2 separate regions of the Homo sapiens genome follow, and region 1 is linked to region 2. The links are contacts of gene promoters, found by promoter capture Hi-C in blood cells and fetal thymus (Javierre and others, 2016). All regions are on one chromosome and are shown on one strand. Each heading gives the region's core, a stretch centred on a gene start or on the middle of the fragment in contact. The rest is flanking DNA. Distances are from core to core; before and after follow the strand shown.

The links. The method cuts DNA at HindIII sites, captures the fragments that hold promoters and counts their contacts. A CHiCAGO score of 5 or more calls a contact.
Region 1: a contact is called between a fragment that was not itself captured here and the fragment with the promoter of NAGS in region 2, in 2 of 17 cell types (naive CD4 T cells and endothelial precursors). The highest score is 8.9, in naive CD4 T cells.

Annotation. Positions count from the first base shown.
Region 1 is chr17:43,871,861-43,877,095 of GRCh38, reverse strand. MPP2 (MAGUK p55 scaffold protein 2) reads left to right here. Exons shown (of 13, transcript NM_005374.5): 13 at 1-1,736. Among named protein-coding and RNA genes, the nearest start is that of CD300LG, 27 kb to the right of the region's middle. The HindIII fragment of the contact is 5,220 bases long and covers 1-4,129 here.
Region 2 is chr17:44,002,033-44,006,160 of GRCh38, reverse strand. NAGS (N-acetylglutamate synthase) reads right to left here and starts at 1,539. Exons shown (of 7, transcript NM_153006.3): 1 at 1,072-1,539; 2 at 250-524; 3 at 1-137. The coding sequence starts at 1,497. It also overlaps a transcript of PYY not described here. RefSeq lists an enhancer at 1-616. The HindIII fragment of the contact is 18,802 bases long and covers 1-4,128 here.

The DNA of each region.
Region 1 (5,235 bases), core at 270-2,769, 130 kb after region 2:
GACAGGTCAGCCCTGCTCCCCACAGGGCCAGGCTGGCAGGGGCCAGTGGGCTCAGCCCAGGTAGGGGCAGGATGGAGGGCTGAGCCCTGTGACAACCTGCTGTTACCAACTGAAGAGCCCCAAGCTCTCCATGGCCCACAGCAGGCACAGGTCTGAGCTCTATGTCCTTGACCTTGGTCCATTTGGTTTTCTGTCTAGCCAGGTCCAGGTAGCCCACTTGCATCAGGGCTGCTGGGTTGGAGGGGCTAAGGAGGAGTGCAGAGGGGACCTTGGGAGCCTGGGCTTGAAGGACAGTTGCCCTCCAGGAGGTTCCTCACACACAACTCCAGAGGCGCCATTTACACTGTAGTCTGTACAACCTGTGGTTCCACGTGCATGTTCGGCACCTGTCTGTGCCTCTGGCACCAGGTTGTGTGTATGTGTGTGCGTGTGCACGTGCGTGTGTGTGTGTGTGTGTCAGGTTTAATTTGGGGAGGAAGCAAAGGGTTTTGTTTTGGAGGTCACTCTTTGGGGCCCCTTTCTGGGGGTTCCCCATCAGCCCTCATTTCTTATAATACCCTGATCCCAGACTCCAAAGCCCTGGTCCTTTCCTGATGTCTCCTCCCTTGTCTTATTGTCCCCCTACCCTAAATGCCCCCCTGCCATAACTTGGGGAGGGCAGTTTTGTAAAATAGGAGACTCCCTTTAAGAAAGAATGCTGTCCTAGATGTACTTGGGCATCTCATCCTTCATTATTCTCTGCATTCCTTCCGGGGGGAGCCTGTCCTCAGAGGGGACAACCTGTGACACCCTGAGTCCAAACCCTTGTGCCTCCCAGTTCTTCCAAGTGTCTAACTAGTCTTCGCTGCAGCGTCAGCCAAAGCTGGCCCCTGAACCACTGTGTGCCCATTTCCTAGGGAAGGGGAAGGAGAATAAACAGAATATTTATTACAAATGTTAGAATATATTTCTTATACTAGGAATCTCATTTGCATTTGCATAGACTATACACATGGGGTGGAAAGGCCAGGCCTGCCCCCATCTCGTTGGTGTGGCTCTGCGTATACTACACACTCATTCTCCTGCTCCTCTTTTCCCTTAGTCAGTGTCCTTTCATCCTGATTCAGCTCTGCCTTGCATCACCCTCAGCCTAAGGGAGTGGGAAGGAAATGGGGTGTTTTCTTGCTGACCTGAGGCTATAGGGTCACTTGCCATTTCCTACCTTCTCTGGGGGATTTGAGGGTAGAGGCAGGGGAAGATCTGTTGTTGCAGCTGCTTCTGCCCCCTTGATCCAAATGACCATCATCTCTGATGGAGATGGGTTGGGTACCTGGCCTTCATGGCACCTTCACTGCTAGGGATGCTCAAGGGGCAGGCCTGGGGCCCTTCCCTCCTGTCTCTTCTCGGTCTTTCCTCTCTGAGCAGCCTCCTACCTCCCCTGCCTGAGCCCTCACTCCACAGCCCTCCCAGGTACCTAGCAGAGGCTGTCAGTCCTTGGCTCACCTGGAACAGGGCTGGGGCTGGGTTGGAACAGGTGTGTGCCCCCACCACAGCTCTATGACTCTGTTCTCCCTCCCTGCCATTGTGGACTCTTGTATTTGAGGGACCTCAAGAGAGTGAGGACCCTACCATCCACTGTCCATATTCAGTCCCAGCCCCAGTGCGCTTCCTCTGTTCCCTCCCTCAGCCATCCAATTCTTGAGTTTTCTCACTGATTGGTTTTCTTTCTTTTTCCTTGGATTAAATGTGAAAGCAAAGGCTTCTGGCTCTGCTTTTCTTTGGTTGGGGTTGGATGGATGGCTTTGGGAGAGAGTGAGAGCTGGGGAGCACAGCACAGATGACTACTAGAATGGAAGTCAGAGCAACATGTCTTGTTTTCTGCGATGTCTTCCTTTCCTCTGTCTTGCCCCTGCACACTCCCCCATCCCCAGAAGATGCTCCTTCTAAGTGCTTGTACCCAAGGACATGAACAGACATTTCTCAAAAGAAGACATACAAGTGACAATGTATGAAAAAGTGCTTTACGTCACTAATCATCAGAGAAATGCAAACCAAAACTACCATGAGTTACCATCTCACACCAGTCAGAATGGCTATTAAAAGGTCAAAAAATAAGAGATGCTGGTGAAGTTGCAGACAAGAGGGAGTGCTTATACACTATTGGTGGGAACGTACATTAGTTCAGCCCCCGTGGAAAGCTGTTTGGGGAGTTCTCATAGAACTACCATTCATTCCAGCAATCCCATCACTGGGCATCTACCCAAAGGAGAAGAAATCGTTCCACCAAAAAGATACCTGCACTTGTGTGACTGTCACTATGGGACTGAATGAAGGAGGATGTACGCCACTTGTGACAGTTACTACAGGACCGAACAAAAGAGGACAAATGCAGAAATGAAAACAAGACAAAAGAATCTGCTTTAAAGAAGGGGTCCTTGCTTTTGCTTCTAGTGAGCAAGGGCCCTGAGCTTCCACAGCCCTCCATATTTATTGGGTAGAAAGAGCAGGGAGGAGCAGGTAACCTTTGGTCAGCTGCTTGATTTATCACAGGTTCACATAATTGCTGACAGGCTTCATGTGTGCCTGTAGATAATCACAAACACTGCGCCTGAGGTGTGACTGCCCTCAGCATTCCTTCTGGGTGGCAGACGCAGTTTGTCAGTTTGCCAGCATTCTGCATTATGAGAACAGTTTGCTCATACAGCCTCCAGTGGTATACTGAGTTGATCATGACCCTCATTCTTTCGGCCTCCAACATCTCCCCCTTTTTGTTTTTACATTAATTGAACAAAATCTGTCCTCATGTTATGGGGGTTGATGTCAGTGTGACTCTGGTCAGTCCTCACTCTGTCTTTGCACTCAGATTCAACTGGCTCATGGCTCATACCAGGGGAACCAGGCCCATGGTTGGGATCCATGGGTCCCTCCAGTCTCCTGTTCCATGGTTGCACACACCTTGAGGGCACCCACATGGTTTGTCCATCTCCTATAAAAACATAAGCATACCCTCGTCCCCACGTTAGTAAATCTATAGGCAGTGGGAAACATATTCTGAGGTTCCTTAATGCTTTTCCTACAAAATGCTGACATGACGTAGGACTGCTGAGCATGCCTTGGGGTAAAACTTTCCATTGATAATGAGAAACAGGCTTTCTCCAATCAACAGAAGGCACAGAAAACAAATCGAGGCTTATCCTTCTCGTGTAAAGGTATAGTAAAAAAAAAAAATCTCCAAGATCCATTACTGCCAGAGGCCAGTCTCTTGCTCCCGTATCCATAAGCCCACAAAACTTTTAATTTGCACTGCACAAGTGGGTCTACTAGATGCTATTGGTTGTGATAGATAAATGTCCCTCCGAGTTGTACTTCCAAATCCTTGATTCCCTTGTTTCTTCTTTCGTGGAGAAGGGTGTAATTTGCAGGAGATAAGCAACAGTTGAGCAATATATTCTCCCAGTTCAAAACCCAAAGATCTTGTAACATTACCACTACTTGAATTTCTCCTTCATAATCCAAATTAACAACTCCTGGGACTACAGTAATGCCCTGTAAGTTAAGACAGCTTTTGCCTAAAATTAATCCCATGTATCCTGTTGGCAAAGGTCCACAAATCCCAGTGGGAATCTTCGTGGATTTGTCTCCTCCAACTAAAGTAACACATTCTTTGACTGGGAGACCCAATCCTGTGCTTCCAGGTGTTCCTGGGGAGAGGGAATCAATGTGCCTCCGGAAACCCACCCTTGAAACGGAGTTGTGGGCTGGACTGGGGATGCCCTCATTGTTTGAGGTGCCCACATCCAGGCCCCCTTCTCATTTCCCCACAGGGGGGTGCTGTTTTGATGAAATTTTGAATGGCATTGATTAGCCCAATCATTTCCTTTATTGCAAAGGAGGGCAAAGTCCTGGTGTTTTTTTCTATTGTGCGGGAGGGAACTGTATTATAAGATCCCTTCTTTCCAGAGATCTGACGGCATTCTTTTTTGAAATGTCCAATTTTTCCACAATTATAACACTTTCCCACTTTAGGGTTTGACCCTTGGCTCCTTTTAGGTTTATCAACTACTAAACTAGCCATTGCTTGAGCCAACATTGTAGAGCGATGAAGCTCAATTCCCACATCTTGACAAGCTCTGAGAAAATTTCCTAAGCTTCTTGTACATCTCACAGGTGCCAGTGCATGCTTACAATCCACGTTTGCATTCTCAAAGCCAAAGTTAAAGTTAGTATTTCTGCAGCCACAAAAGAAGACGGTACAGGCCAATCTTCACCCTCCCTCTCCTATTCACCGCCCTTGATAGGTGCTGTGGGTGGGGCAAAAAATTCTTTCAAATTTTGAAATAATGACAAAAGGACAGTACAGACCAAACCCCAAACAGAAAAAACAGAAAGAATGGACAAATTCTGCCCCATGTTACCCTGATTCAGAAACTTCCCGCTCCCAGTACCTCTTTAGGGACCTGACCTTATATCCCAGTACTTTTTTAGGGCACTGACCTTATATCCACTGCCAGCAGACTCGTTCTGGGGTTTCTCGTTCGTCTGGCCAGTTTCACTTTCTCTGCTCCAGCGGACCCTCCTCGTTCGTGTCCCTGTCTGTCCCTGTCTGTCTCTGCTAGTCTCTACGAGTCCCTGCAAGTCCCTGCTTGTCTCTATCTGTCCCTGTCTGTCCCTATCCCTGTTCATCCCTGTTTGGGCACCACTTGTGACAGTTACTATGGGACTGAACAAAAGAGGATGAACGCAGAAATGAAAACTTAAGACAAAAGAATCTGTTTTAAAGAAGGGGTTGGGGGCTTCTTGCTTCTAGTGAGCAAGGGCCCTAAGCTTCCACAGCCCTCCATATTTATTGGGTAGAAAGAGTAGGGAAGAGCAGGTAACCATTGGTCAGCTGCTTGATTTATCACAGGTTCACATAATTGCTAACAGGCTTCAGGTGTGCCTGTAGATAATCACAAACACTGCGCCTGGGGCGTGACTGCCCTCAGCATTCCTTCTGGGTGGCAGACGCAGTTTGTCAGTTTGCCAACATTCTGCATTATGAGAACAGTTTGCTGTTTGCTCATATAGCCTCCAGTGGTATACTGGGTTGATCACGACCCTCATTCTTTTGGCCTCCAACACACTTGTATGCTTATCGTAGCACTATTCACCATAGCAAAGACATGGAATCAACTTAGGTGTCCATCAGTGGTGGGTTGGATAAAGAAAATATGGTACATATACACCATGGGATATAATGCAGCCATAAAAATAGTG
Region 2 (4,128 bases), core at 290-2,789:
ACGCGGTCACCTCCAGGGAGTCGAGAAGCACGGAGCGGCGCGCGGCCGTCTCCCCGATGGGGCACAGGATGGGGATGCTGCCCGACTCCAGGCACCACTGCAGCAGGTCTGTCTCCACCGAGACGATGCCGCCGTAGCTGTGGGCCAGACGTGGTGCTCGAGAGGGCCCCCTCCAGGCCTGCCGGACGGGGCAGGGCGGGCAGAGTAGCACGCTCTGAGGACGCCTGGGCGGGCAGGGCGGGCACTCACCTGGCATGGGGAGCCGGCTCGGCAGCGCGTAGCACAGACCCGCCGCCAAAAAATGGCACAGCAGCGGCGGCGTTGTGTCGAAGCGCGTCTACCAGCACCTTGCAGCTCTTGGCCAGCTGCGCCTTGGCCTCCCAGAAGGAAAGACAGCCCGAGGGAGCCGTAGGGGCCGGCAGCCCCAGGACCACCAGCGGCTTCATGTCCATGCGCTGCAAGAAGGCCAGGGCAAAGGCCAGACTGGATACGCCCTGCTGGCACTTGAGCACCTCCTCGTCCACCTGCGGAGGAGTGGGCTTTCAAGGAGCGTGACACGGACCTGAGCCGCTGGCTCCCACAGCCTGGCCTGCAGGGCCGTCTCGGTGACCCTACCCTTCCAGAAGCTGTCAGGACCCAGTTCTGGCCACCAGTGCCCACCTGCTCCGCCCTTTGCCCCGTTGGGTCTTGCCACTCCCTTGTCTCACGCTGGGGTACCTCCCGCCCTCCTCCCTCCGACCTTGGACTCCGGGACATCTTTGGGGGAGGGGCAGTGCAAGCGGCTCCTGTCCAGGTCCTTCTGAACCCCTAACTGCGCCCATGTTGGGGGCCTTCTTCAGAGCATCACACCTGGCGGGTGGGGTCCCCCAGGATCCTCACTCGGGCTGGGCGGGAGGCTTCCGGAGGAGCTTACGGCCTCTCCCATTCCCGGCGGCGCTGGTCTGGGCCCTGCCGGGCTCCTTCCCGCTTCCGCTGCGCAGAGCCCGCAGCGTATCCTGCCATGCCTGAGGACAGGTGGCCGCACAACCCCATCCCCTCGCTGCGTCACGGCCCACGCCGGGCTCCGCTCACCTCGATGACGGCGAAGGGCTTGTCCGCGGAGTGATGGCAGGTCTGGAACTGCGTGAGCCAGTGGCGCGCCTCCCCAGGGCTGGCCCCGCACTGGTTCAGGAAGGCCTGGATGTCCCGCTGCACCAGCGAGCGGCCCGAAGGAGGCTCTGGGGACTCGTGGGGCACCGGGGGCCTGGGACTCGGCACCCACGACGGCTCCTCGGCGACGGGCGACTGGGAGACGTCGTCCGCGCCCGCGTACTCCTCGGGCGGGGGCTGGGGCTGCGACCAGGCGGTGCTGAGCCGGCGCCCCGGGCTGGTGCCCCTCGCCGCCCGCCGCCGCGCGCCACAGCTCAGCCTTCGGGCGCCCCCAGTGCCTCCCCGGCCTCTCAGCCTCGGGGCTACAGCAGCTGCCCGCAGAACCACAGCCATCAGCGCCGTCGCCATGACGACAACCAACTCTTGCCCCCCAAGAGTGGCAGTCTGTCTGGAGCGTCTGGCACTGGGGGGCTCTTAACTTGCCGTTGGGCGGGGCTGGACCTGGTCGGGGCGGGGTCCGGACAGGGGACCAGGAGTCTCCTCTGGGTGCGTTTGAGGAGGGTCAGGCCATGAGTCAGGGGGCGGGGCCACTAGGCTCCCCCGCCCCTGGAGGAACTGAACCCACTATCGGTCATGGGGCCGAGACTAAATGTGGCGGGTTGTCTTTAATCTGCTGCCAAGGTAGGTTCCAGGGGCGGCTTTGGGAGTCTGCAGGGCCTTGGATGATTGGCATTCTGACCAGAGAAGAAGGGACTGTAGGTGGCTTTGAGCACAGGGCTGGGCAGGGGGCTGGAAGGAGGGCGCTGGAAAGAGTAGAAGAAGGGGGGCAGTGGGAGGGCGGGGGCGGGTGGTGCTGGCCTTGTCTGTCCTGTTGCCTGAGCTCAAAAAAGATCCTAATGAATGACCATGAGGTTACCAGGGTTTGCCAAACTCCAGTCACTGGGTACCAGCTTGAGGAATTCTGTGATATCCTCAAAACACCCCTCAAAACTTATAATACTTTAGTGTTAATGCTTTTCTTTATCGAATATCACATCTGGTAAAAATAAAATAAAATAGAGTTTTTTATTTTGGTTTTTGAGATAGGGTCTCACTCTGTTGTTGCCCAGGCTGCAGTACAGTGGTGCAATCATAGCTCACTGCAGCCTCCACCTCCCAGGTTCAAATGATCCTCCTGCCTCAGTCTCCCTAGTAGCTGGGACCACAAATGCACACCACCATGCCCAGCTGATTTAAAAAAAAATTATTTTTTTTGAAGACGGGTGTTCACCATGTTGCCCAGACTGTTCGTGAACTCCTGAGCTCAAGCAGTCCTCCCACTTCTGCCTCCCAAGGTGCTGGGATTACAGGTGTGAGCTACTTCACTCGACCTCTGTAACCCTTTTTTTTTTTTTTTTTTTTGTTTGTTTGTTTGTTTGAGATGGAGTCCCACCCTATTGCCCAGGCTGGAGTGCAGTGTTGCGATCTCGGCTCACTGTAATCCCCGCCTTCTGGGTTCAAGCGATTCTCCTGCCTCAGCCTCCTGAGTAGCAGGGATTACAGGCAGACACCATCACACCCGGCTAATCTTTGTATTTTTAGTAGAGACAGGGTTTCACCATGTTGGCCAGGATTGTCTCAAACTCCTGACCTCGTGATCCACCTGCCTCAGCCTCCCAAAGTGCTGGGATTACAGGCGTGAGCCACCACGCCCGGCCCTCTTTAACCTTTTTAAACTTAAAGTTTATCCATGTTAGGTCTGTAACTAGGCCAGTATCACTTGCCATAAGCCTTAAGAATCAAGTGAGGAGGCGGGTGGGTCATTTGAGGTCAGAAGTTCAAGACCAGCCTGGCCAACATGGTGAAACCCCATCTCTACTAAAAATACAAAAATTAGCCAGGCAGTAGTGGCATGTTTCTGTAATCCCAGCTACTCAGGAGGCCAGAGAATCACTTGAGCCTGGGAGGAGGAGATTGCGGTGAACTGAGACTGTGCCACTGCACTCCCGTCTGGGCGACAGAATGAGACCCTGTCTCAAAAAAATTAAAATTAAAATTAAAATCAAAATTAAAAAAGAATCAAGTGAGAGGAAAACAATGTTATTACATTCCATTATATTCCATCTGCATAGCTTGCCTGCTTTCTTGGTAACATGGAAGGTTAGCAGGTGCCATGTGTTAAAGATACCCTAGCACCAAGCAAAGCCTTCTGTGTGGTAGAGGAATAGCTAACACATGTCGAATGCTAGGCACTATGCAAAGGACTTCACAAATAGTCATTCATTTAATCCTCTCAGTGACTCCAGGATAGCTATTATCATTATTCCCATTTTACAGATGAGAAAATGGAGGTACAGAAATATGTGAGGATCAGGGTCACTCAGCTCACAAGCCGTGGAGCTGGTCTAGGAAGCAGTTCTGCTCCAGATCCATGCTGTTAAGCAAGTTTTGGAAAGGAGTTGAAAGGCTTGAAAACATTCACAGGATATGATTCAATGTTACTTCATACTGTGTCCATGTGCTGGGCACTGTCAGCTGCACACATCCTGCCCTTGGGTACACTCTGATCCAGTCAGACCCTCTGTTGTTGTAGAGGGGGAAAGAGGACCCTCTGTTGTTGTAGAGGGGAGGTGACCTGGCCAAGGTCACACAGCTCGTCAGTGGCATGGCCAGACCCTAAGCACCCTCAGTTCCTACCCCTGCTCCTCCCTGCTTTCTTGCACGTGGTTTTGTCTCCCCATGCTGGAGTCCTGACACCTGGGGCTCTGCCTTTTTGGGGAGCAGGGCTTGGGCTACTTCCCTCCTGAGGAGTCTCCAGGGGAGGCCGAGTGAGTGCGCTTACCCGTTTCTGGGATCTTCCCCGCAGTCCCCCACCCCTCGGACACACTGTCCCGGGGGGGAGACTCTGTAGTGGAAGGAGGGGCTGACATAGGACCTCCTCATTGAGTTTTTTTGTTTTCCCACTTAGAAATCTTGGGTTCCAAGGCAAAGCATGAAGCAATGGCGTGGAGGGGCTGCACCCCCTACCTGGTGGGGCCACCTCCAGGGCCTTCTTTCTCT